Linked DNA regions of Homo sapiens: region 1 is linked to region 2. Evidence: promoter capture Hi-C in 16 types of primary human blood cells and fetal thymus (Javierre and others, 2016). All regions are on one chromosome and are shown on one strand. Each heading gives the region's core, a stretch centred on a gene start or on the middle of the fragment in contact. The rest is flanking DNA. Distances are from core to core; before and after follow the strand shown. Region 1 overlaps LOC105377123 (a long non-coding RNA gene). Region 2 holds the start of C3orf49 (chromosome 3 open reading frame 49).

Evidence for each region. The method cuts DNA at HindIII sites, captures the fragments that hold promoters and counts their contacts. A CHiCAGO score of 5 or more calls a contact.
Region 1: a contact is called between a fragment that was not itself captured here and the fragment with the promoter of C3orf49 in region 2, in 2 of 17 cell types (megakaryocytes and endothelial precursors). The highest score is 6.4, in megakaryocytes.

What each region holds. Positions count from the first base shown.
Region 1 is chr3:64,480,576-64,485,900 of GRCh38, reverse strand. The region is part of intron 3 of LOC105377123 (a long non-coding RNA gene); the gene reads left to right. Among named protein-coding and RNA genes, the nearest start is that of PRICKLE2-DT, 38 kb to the right of the region's middle. The HindIII fragment of the contact is 1,958 bases long and covers 1,136-3,093 here.
Region 2 is chr3:63,817,226-63,821,867 of GRCh38, reverse strand. C3orf49 (chromosome 3 open reading frame 49) reads right to left here and starts at 2,569. Exons shown (of 7, transcript NM_001355236.2): 1 at 2,272-2,569. The coding sequence starts at 2,396. RefSeq lists a silencer at 3,103-3,222. The HindIII fragment of the contact is 1,193 bases long and covers 2,118-3,310 here.

The DNA.
Region 1 (5,325 bases), core at 865-3,364, 660 kb before region 2:
ACCCTGCCTGACAGGCCATGGTACAGAAGGTGAATTTTTAAAATATACATATATAAGTGTAATAAGTCATTTAAACAGGAGTTTCATGGTCCACCTTATATTTTTACAACAGTAGTTCTCAAAGTGTGAACCTCAGCCCAGGAGGGTCACCTGGGAATTTGTGAGGCATGGAAATTCGCAGGTCCACTTCTGGCCTGATGAATCACAGGCTCTGGGAGTGGAACTCAGCGGTCTGTATTTTAACAAGCCCTCCAGGAGATGCTGCTACTGCTGGTCTGAACTGGAAGCTCAGTGATTCTCAATCCTGGATGCACAAAAGAATCATCTAACTTTGGGAGGCCAAAGCAGGTAGATCGCTTGAGGTCAGGAGTTTGAGACCAGCCTGAGCAACATGGTGAAACCCCATCTCTACTAAAAATACAAAAAATTAGCTGGGTGTGGTGGCACACACATAGTCCCAGCTACTTGGGAGGCTGAGGCCAGAGAATCGCTAGAACCTGGGAGGTTGAGGTTGCAGTGAGCCGAGATGGCACCACTACACTCCAGCCTGGGTGACAGAGCAAGACTCTGTCTCGAAAAATAAAAATAAAAAGAATCATCCAGGAGCTTTCATGAGCTACGAATGTTGAGAGACCTTCTACCCACTACCCCTAGATTCTGATTTAATTAGTCAGGGTTTGGCCCCTGGGTGTTGGTAGGTCTTGAATGTTCCCCAAGGCATTCCATAGCTACAGCAGGTAGGACCACAGCTCTAGCTGCTGCGTGAAGAATAGACAACAGGGGGAAGGGAGGAGATGCAAGAAGATCAGGAGGCTAATGCAGTGGTCCAGGTGAGGGATGATGGTGGCAGAGAATATGAAGGGGCTTAGACAGATTTTAAATATATTTCACAGAGAAAAACCCAACAGGACTTTTAGATTGATAGGATATGGGGTGGAGAGGTGGGACTTATATTCAGCATCAGATCGAAGGGAATGCCAGCCATAATAGTAAAGACCCTGTGCTTTTAGATAGCCTGCAGCTAGAAGACCCTGGCAACATAGCCTAACGTTGAGCACAGGGCCCCAAAGAAGTCCATCTTCTCTATCTGCCTGGCAACAAAGAAGATTTCAGCAAACTTAGCAAGATCTAAGCTTATCCTAAGTTCTCAGAGGAGCCACAATGTGAAAGGGACTTTACGAAAAAAAAATCTGAATACTCAGCTAGGATGTTCCTGTTTTACAGCCCAGTCTCCTGGGAACACTCTGGGCACTGGCCCTTCTGGGGAGAACAGGGGACTGGATGGTATATCCAGGAGTGACCAGCAGGTGGCATGCCAGACTCAGAAATGTGTATTGCAGGGAGCAAGGCAACTCTTGCTGTTTGCTGCTTAAACAGAAGAAAAGGATTCACTCCGGAAGTAATACTCATGTGTGCCATGTACTAAATGGCTACTGTGTGCCAGATACTGTGCCAAGTGCTTATGTGTATATTCTCATTTAATCCTCATAGCTCTACAAGGTGAGCTCCACCACTGTACATATATTCAGAGATCTAAGTGGCTTGGGCAATGTCACTGACATGGTCATTGGCAGAACCAGCCTTGGTCCTCTAGCCTGTCTGACCCCATGGCCACTTTTCCTGTCAAAAGGGCCAGGATCCCCAGCGGCTCTTTCTTGTCCACAGTGGTGCTCTCACTCACACTTGGGGGTAATGCCCTTGGAAGGTGGGGCCATCAGAATTATCAAAGCCTTTAAAGTCAAACGCCCTGGGCTTTGCCGCTCACTTGCTGTGCGATGGTAAGAAAGCTACTTGGCCTCTCTATCCTCAGGTTTCCTCATCTCTAAAATGGGGTGAGGCTGGGCCCAATGGCTCACTCTTGTAATCCCAGCACTTTGGGAGGCTGAGGCAGAAGGACTGCTCGAAGCCCGGAGTTCGATACTAGCCTGGGCAACAAAGTGAGACCACGGCGCTACAAAAAAAAAAAAAAAAAAATTAAAATGCGTTGAGACGTGAGGCAGTGAGCTGTGGTGAGATGATCTTATGTAACTGACCCAGAATCTTGCTTGCTTGGCCCAGAGGAGTGCTCAATGAATGGCAGCTTTTCTGCTTAAAATGATTTCACAGGAGGTAGAGACAACTCTGAAAGGTCTAAAACTGTGCTATCCAATGGTGCTCTCTGCAGTGATAGAAATGCTCTATAACTGTGCTGTCCAGCAGCATAGTCATAACCACATGTGGCTATTGAGTGCTTAATACATAGCTAGTGCAACTGAGAGATTGAATTTTAAATTTTACTTAATTACAATAAATGTAAATTTCAATAACCATATGTGGCCAGTGGCTACCGTATTGGACAGTGCAAGTCTAAAATGTGTCTGCGCTCACAGTCTGTGTGTCCTTTACAGCCCCTTGGGTATGAAACAAAATAAGTTATGTTCAACATTTGGATCCTGGCATATAGCAGGCACCCAGTAAATTTGAGTTAGTCAGAAATGGGAGAGAAAGGAAAATCAGTAAGTGAAGCCAAAGCAATGTTTTACATTTAACAAATTGTGTAAAATTGTAGAACTGGACTCTCAGACTTCTCCAGCAAAATCTTCCAGAGTTCAGTAACCATGGGGGACTGACTGGGGCAGGTTGTTAGTTTTTTACCCTTTCAAGCCAGAATTCTCTAAATATTTCTTCAGCCTGTATTCGATGGGGACAGAGAACAAATGTGTTCAAGTGAATAACGTGTGTGTTCAATACAAATTCCTTTCATCTATTCACTGACTAAAGAACACTTCCTCCTTTTCTGTGCCCCCTCTTCAAATTTTTTTTTGCAATTTCACAAATCAGACAACTGCTTAGAAAGTTTATTCTCTCTCTCTCTCTCTCTCTTTTGTTTTGTGTGTTTGTTTTTTGAGACAGGGTCTCACTCTGTTGCCGAGGCTGGAGTGCAATGGTGAGATCTCAGCTCACTGCAGCCTCAACTTTCTGGAGCTCAGATGATCCTCCACCTCATCCTCCCAAGTAGCTGGGACTATAGGCATGTACCACCACACCCAGACTATTTTTGTGTTTTTTCTGTAGAGACAAGGTTTCACATGTTGCCCAGGTGGGTCTCAAGCTTCTGGGACCAAGTTACTTGCTTGTCTTGGCCTCCCAAAGTGCTGGGATTACAGACATGAGCCAGCATGCTGCGCCAAAAGATTTTAAAGGTTCAAAGTATAAATAACAAAACAACTGGCCCCCCAGGAAGCAGCACTATATCATGCATTTCTCACTTCCAAAATTTTATCTATCCAGATTTTGTTTTTAAGTGATGGTCAGTTGGCAATTCTTGCATGTTCCATAGTTGAATCTTGCAGTTTATAAAAGCTAGTGGCAAACATTTTCTCCAGAGGTAGGTCTGCATTGGCTGACACTGCCATTTGCTTCTATCTGAAGATAATTTCTAGTCAATATTGGGACCAATTTGCATTCCACCTGTGGTTTAAGAAAAATCTGAGTTAATAGACATCTTATTTCCAAAGTATCCCAGTGATGTGTAGTGGTCCTTGTGGACTGGCCCCCTGGGCTGCTGGTCCATTTCCTAACCTGGCTCTGACCCAGTTAAGACCAAGCCCCTCTCCTCCAGAGCATCCTGTTCTGGCCACAGGGCGGACATTCTTACCTATACCAGGCAGAACCTTTCTTACCTGTACAGGGCAGAGCCATTCGTTGCTCCTCACCATTCTGAAGACTTGTACTCTATCTGGGTGCCCTAGCTACCAACATGAAGTAGCGGTGATCACAGCTCCTTGAACAAGACCTATGGCTCTGACAACAAACAGCCCCATGAAAGGAGCTGCTTTTGCTTTTTGTATTTTTAACTTTTCCCTTCACTATACCTCAAAGCCCTCTAGGAACATAGAGAATCCTCTGCCAGAATGACATGTTCTTCTGTCTTTTATGGCTCTTAGATTCTTTTTTTTAAATTTTATTATTATAATACTTTAAGTTTTAGGGTACATGTGCATAACGTGCAGGTTTGTTACGTATGTATACATGTGCCATGTTGGTGTGCTGCACCCATTAGCTCGTCATTTAGCGTTAGGTATATCTCCTAATGCTATCCCTCCCACCTGCCCCCACCCCACTAACAGTCCCTGGTGTGTGATGTTCCCCTTCCTGTGTCCATGTGTTCTCATTGTTCAATTCCCACCTATAAGCGAGAACATGCGGTGTTTGGTTTCTTGTCCTTGCAATAGTTTGCTGAGAATGATGGTTTCCAGTTTCATCCATGTCCCTAAAAAGGACATGAATTCATCATTTTTTATGGCTGCATAGTATTCCATGGTGTATATGTGCCACATTTTCTTAATCCAGTCTGTCGTTGTTGGACATTTAGGTTGGTTCCAAGTCTTTGCTATTGTGAATAGTGCCACTATAAACATAAGTGTGCATGTGTCTTTATAGCAGCATGATTGATAATCCTTTGGGTATATACCCAGTAATGGGATGGCTGGGTCAAATGGTATTTCTAGTTCTAGATCCCTGAGGAATCGCCACACTGTCTTCCACAATGGTTGAACTAGTTTACAGTCCCACCAACAGTGTAAAAGTGTTCCTATTTCTCCACATCCTCTCCAGCACCTGTTGTTTCCTGACTTCTTAATGATCGCCATTCTAACTGGTGTGAGATAGTATCTCATTGTGGTTTAGATTTGCATTTCTCTGATGGCCAGTGATGATGAGCATTTTTTCGTGTGTTTTTTGGCTGCATAAATGTCTTCTTTTGAGAAGTGTCTGTTCATATCCTTTGCCCGTTTTTTGATGGGGTTGTTTGTTTTTTTCTTGTAAATGTGTTTGAGTTCATTGTAGATTCTGGATATTAGCCCTTTGTGAGATGAGTAGGTTGCAAAAATTTTCTCCCATTCTGTAGGTTGCCTGTTCACTCTGATGGTAGTTTCTTTTGCTGTGCAGAAGCTCTTTAGTTTAATTAGATCCCATTTGTCAATTTTGGCTTTTGTTGCCATTGCTTTTGGTGTTTTAGACATGAAGTCCTTGCCCATACCTATGTCCTGAATGGTATTGCCTAGGTTTTCTTCTAGGGTTTTTATGGTTTTAGATCTAACATTTAAGTCTTTAATCCATCTTGAATTAATTTTTGTATAAGGTGTAAGGAAGGGATCCAGTTTCAGCTTTCTACATATGGCTAGCCAGTTTTCCCAGCACCATTTATTAAATAGGGAATCCTTTCCCCATTGCTTGTTTTTGTCAGGTTTGTCAAAGATCAGATAGTTGTAGATATGCGGCATTGTTTCTGAGGGCTCTGTTCTGTTCCATTGGTCTATATCTCTGTTTTGGTACCAGTACCAT
Region 2 (4,642 bases), core at 1,320-3,819:
AATACAGAACATTTCCAGTAACACCAGGATCCCTCATGTTTTATAGCCACATCCACTATCCACTGGTCCCCCCTTTCTTAAACCGGCATCTACGAATCTGTCTTCTGTTTGCGTAATTCTCGTCCTTTCAAGAATGTTATGTAAATGGAAATATACATCATGTAATTTTTTGAGATATGCTTTTTTTCACTCAGCATAATTCTTTGGGCATTCATCCAGATTTTGTGTATTAATTGTTCATATCTTTTTATTGCTGAGTAATAGTCCATGATGTGAATGTACCACACTTTGTTTAACTATTCACTGATTGAAGGATACTTGGGTTGTTTCCAGTTTGGGGCTATTATGAATAAAGCTGCTATAAACATTTATCTATAGGTTTTGTATGAACATAAGTTTTCATTTCTCTGGGTGAAATCCCAGGTTTTATATTATGCTATTACGTTGTATTAAATATATAACATATATTTCTAATATGGATTAAAACAAATTTATAACCATTAACAATGTTCTTCATATATTACCTAAAATATCTCATGTACCATCAGTAGCATATGTACTACTCTCCAGGAAAACACTGTTCTAAACAGAACCCAAATCATTCAGCCTTTTTCTGTAATTATATATGGGAAGTGGTTCAGTGACAGCCTAGACACTGGAGTTGAATGGTATTGGTTTAACTCAGGACAATTCCTAACTCTGTGACCTTGGGCATGTCATGTAACCTCTATAAGCTTTGGTCTTCTCATTTGAAAATGGGCATAATCTTTTCAGAATTATGAAAATAAAAGGAAATAATTCATGTGTTTGGAACCTTAAAAAGCATTCCATAAATGATACTTTTTATTACCATGTGGATCAGAACAGTGGGGAAAAGCCATTAACTTATGGGGAAAATCCATTAACTTAAAAGGCAAGCAGGGAGCCCACACTAGAGGGCAAAATAAGGGAGAAGCTAGCAGCCTCCCTTCTGGGACCAAGGGCAGGGTTCTGCAAAATGTACATATATGACTTCTAGGGGGTGCTATTCAATTTCATCCTTAGACTTGTGTATAGTTATTATAATGATTTTCTGGCAGATGGCAGTAAAATGTCCTGAGGAGGGAGCACCATTTCCTAATTCACCCAGAGATAACTTATGGGTAGGATTAATCTCCCGTAGACCCCTCTGAGACTCCTTTAATAATAATTTAATTTTTAAGTGATTCTACTACTATAAACATGTACACACATACACATACTGTGACACAGAACAATGCAAATACAGTTTCAGGAGATTCAGGAATTTTGAAGACCACCCATGTTAAAAGCCCAGTTCTAAGTGGTCTCAGAATCTCTAGAAGGTGTTTCCCATTCCCATCCTCCCCACTCTCATCCCCAATCTATCTAGAACATAATTAACAAAGGTGATTTAGCTCCAGAGCCTAGGAACACACTGCTGCAATTTCTGATATGAGCAGAACCCTCCCCTTCTTAAGTTTTTAAATATTTTTGTGTTGGTACTGAATTTATTTGGTTGTATTGCTTCCCCCGGAGTGCCTACTTTTCATTGAAAGTGGAAATCTCTGCAGTATTTTATTTTGTCCATGGAAGTTCACAAGCTTGGTCTTTGATGCTTCCAGGACTCATTAAAACACCTCACTTCTACATGTCTGAACTATAGCCCATGGACCTGGTAAGAGAGAAGCCCAAAGAAATTGGAAAATAAATCACCACACTGACTTTCCAAATTAAAATATATTATATTTTGGATGTTTCATACCTGTCTATATGGTTTTGTCATTGGCAAAAAAATAGCAAGTCTAAGGCAGTTTTAACGTTACATTAAACAATGTGTCCATAGTGAAATGTGATTAGTACATATTTCAGCAGCCCAAATTGCTGGGATAGGAGAAAGAAAGCACTGATCGTGGACCTATTTCGAAGAATGCACTAATGACTTTTCAAAATAATAGTATTTTCACGGGATGTGAGATGTCCAAAATTCTGATGCTGAAATATCAACATAGGATCAGAACTTATTTTAGTCTCCTATGCCACATTGAAACTTAATTTCGAGTGGAAAGGAAAGGTTTTCCCTGTTACAATTAAGATGTTTCTGATCATAAAATGAAGCTTACATTGTCACACTAGATTTCTTGATCCAACGCAGTACCCTCCCCGCCAATCCATCCAGAGTCCTCATTCCTAAATGCAATGCTTAAAAGGACATGCCACTATGCCAAACCCAAAGACTCTCATTTGACAGAAAAGGAAATGAATCTCTGTTACCTTTCTATCCCCTTCCTTTTGAATGAGCCATTTTTCTTCTTGAGTTGCTGGAATCTTCGGCACTGTCCAACTTTTCTGTAGGCAATCTTAAAGGGTTCTGGTAGATACAGCTGAGGTTGGGCCATTGCTCTCAACTTCACCTGTAGTAGCCGTTTTGGATTGTTTTAGTTCTTGAACTTACAGACTTCAATACAAAATCATCCAGTGACTGAATGTACTGTCAAGGTGTGGGCTATTCGGAATAAAATATGTAGGAAATTTTTAGAGTCTTTCCCTTATTCCCTTCCAGGTGTTAGAGACATTATTTGTGGGACTGGCCCTGTTTACAACTTCACAGAGGTCACCAGTGATGTATTTGACAGAGCTGTGTGAAATTCCATGGACCTTTGTGGAACACTTCACAGATTCTTGAACAAGGCAAATACAGAAATGATGATCTGATTGCCTCAATGCTGGCATTTGGATAGAAAAAAAAAATCAAACAACAACAACAACAACAAAAAACACCCACACACTAATTGACCACCACATTCAGAAGTGCGTATTTGAACTCTGAAGTGGTAGGGACCTATAGGAATACCAACGATACGCTGATTAACACAAGTTGAGCTTCTGTTAGATCTCTCAGTTACAGCTGGTGAATGTTCTCTGTGTCCTGTGGGACACATATGACAAGGCCAGTTGTTGTTTGGACATCTCAAAATGTACCCCAAGGGTGGTTTTCATTACATCTTGGAATTTTGCAGTGGTCTCTCAAAGTACATTGCTAAATTGAGGACCTGATCCACCCCTCCCTTCCAACATTGCCCCATTTATTTCGTGGTGAAGAGCGAATTCTGCCTGTGATGGAACTTCTCACCACAAGGTGGCAGCAGACACTAGGATTTATTCCTGTTACCCTCTCGCGGTTTGAGTTGTTCAGTCAAATAACTAGATGCTTAACAAGAAAAACTCCTCTAGAAAGGTTCTGGGAGTTACAAGAATTACTCTGCTTTCTGTGTTTGCATTAATCAATAATCTGGAGCATACTTCTCAAGCTTTCAAGTGCACACAAACTTCCTGGAGGTCTTTTTAAGATGCAGATTTCGATACAGTACATCTGGGCTGGGATCCAAGAATTTGCACTCCTAACAAACCCGCAGGTGACGCTGATGATGCCAGACTGCACTTGGAGTAGTGAGGGTCTTGTATGTTTCAGTACTGGGGAAAAGAGCTTTAAAATGGTCTAGAATGAAGTGTATAATGTTAAGGGGCTAAGAGAGTGGATTTGGGAATTATGCATGAGTTCTCATTTCTAGCTTAGCTATGTGACCTTGGCCAATTCATTTTAACCCACCCATGCTTGTTTTCTCATCCCTAAAGTGGGACAACTCATAGTGCCCAAGCCATAGTTTTATGGCAAAATTCAAGTGAAATAGAAATTCCGCTTCAGCAGGGAATGAGACCCAGGAATCCATATTCTAGGAGAGTGGGTGCAGATGTTCCTCTGTCCCTTATTTGAGAAACGCTGAAGTAGAGCATATCTAATATGCCTTGGCCAAATGGACATATGCTCCTCCCTGGTCTGTTTTTCCTCATCTGTTGGCATCCTCAGAGCACAATAAATAATAGGTGCTTGAATAAATGAATACATGAATATTTTCTTTAGCAACAGGGCAATATTTTTCATGCAATTATTGGCACTCCTGCCTTAATTCTGTTGTATTTCATCAATTATCTAGATGAATGAGATGAATTTTATGCTAGGAAAGACAGCTGTTTTTTATTTGTGCATGGGTGTCTATGTACATGTCTCTGTGTGTGCATGTCTGCATGTATGTGTGTATGTAATAGGCTGAAACACTTGCTGCTGTGGCATCTGTGACAAAACTTGTAGGTTCCCAAAGGAGTCCTGAAGCAGATGACAGAACTAGAAGGAGTGGGAAGGGGGTGGGGAAAGAGTTAGAGTATAGAGAGACATCAATTTTGAGCTGTGTCTGGATTTACATTCTAGATCTACCCCTTCCAAGCTTATGGGTCCTTGGGCGGGTAACGAAAACCTCTTTGGACCTTCATTTTCTCGTTCGTAAAACAGGAGTAATAACTGCTACCTCCCAAGCTTCTTTGAGTCATTCAGTTATTTAACAAATATTTGAATGCCTAGTGGTTCCCAGGCACCACCCTAGACACCACCCTAGACACCAGGGATACTGCAGTGAACAACATACACAAAATCTCTGAACTCATATAACTTAATATGCTGTGGGAGATGCAGGTAACAAGGAAATGAACATTTTAATTTCAGCTGGTAGTAAATGTTATGAAAAAAGTAAAAGAGGATGATGGGATAGAGTGACTGAGGATGAGGAGTGACTTTAGATGGAGCGTTAGG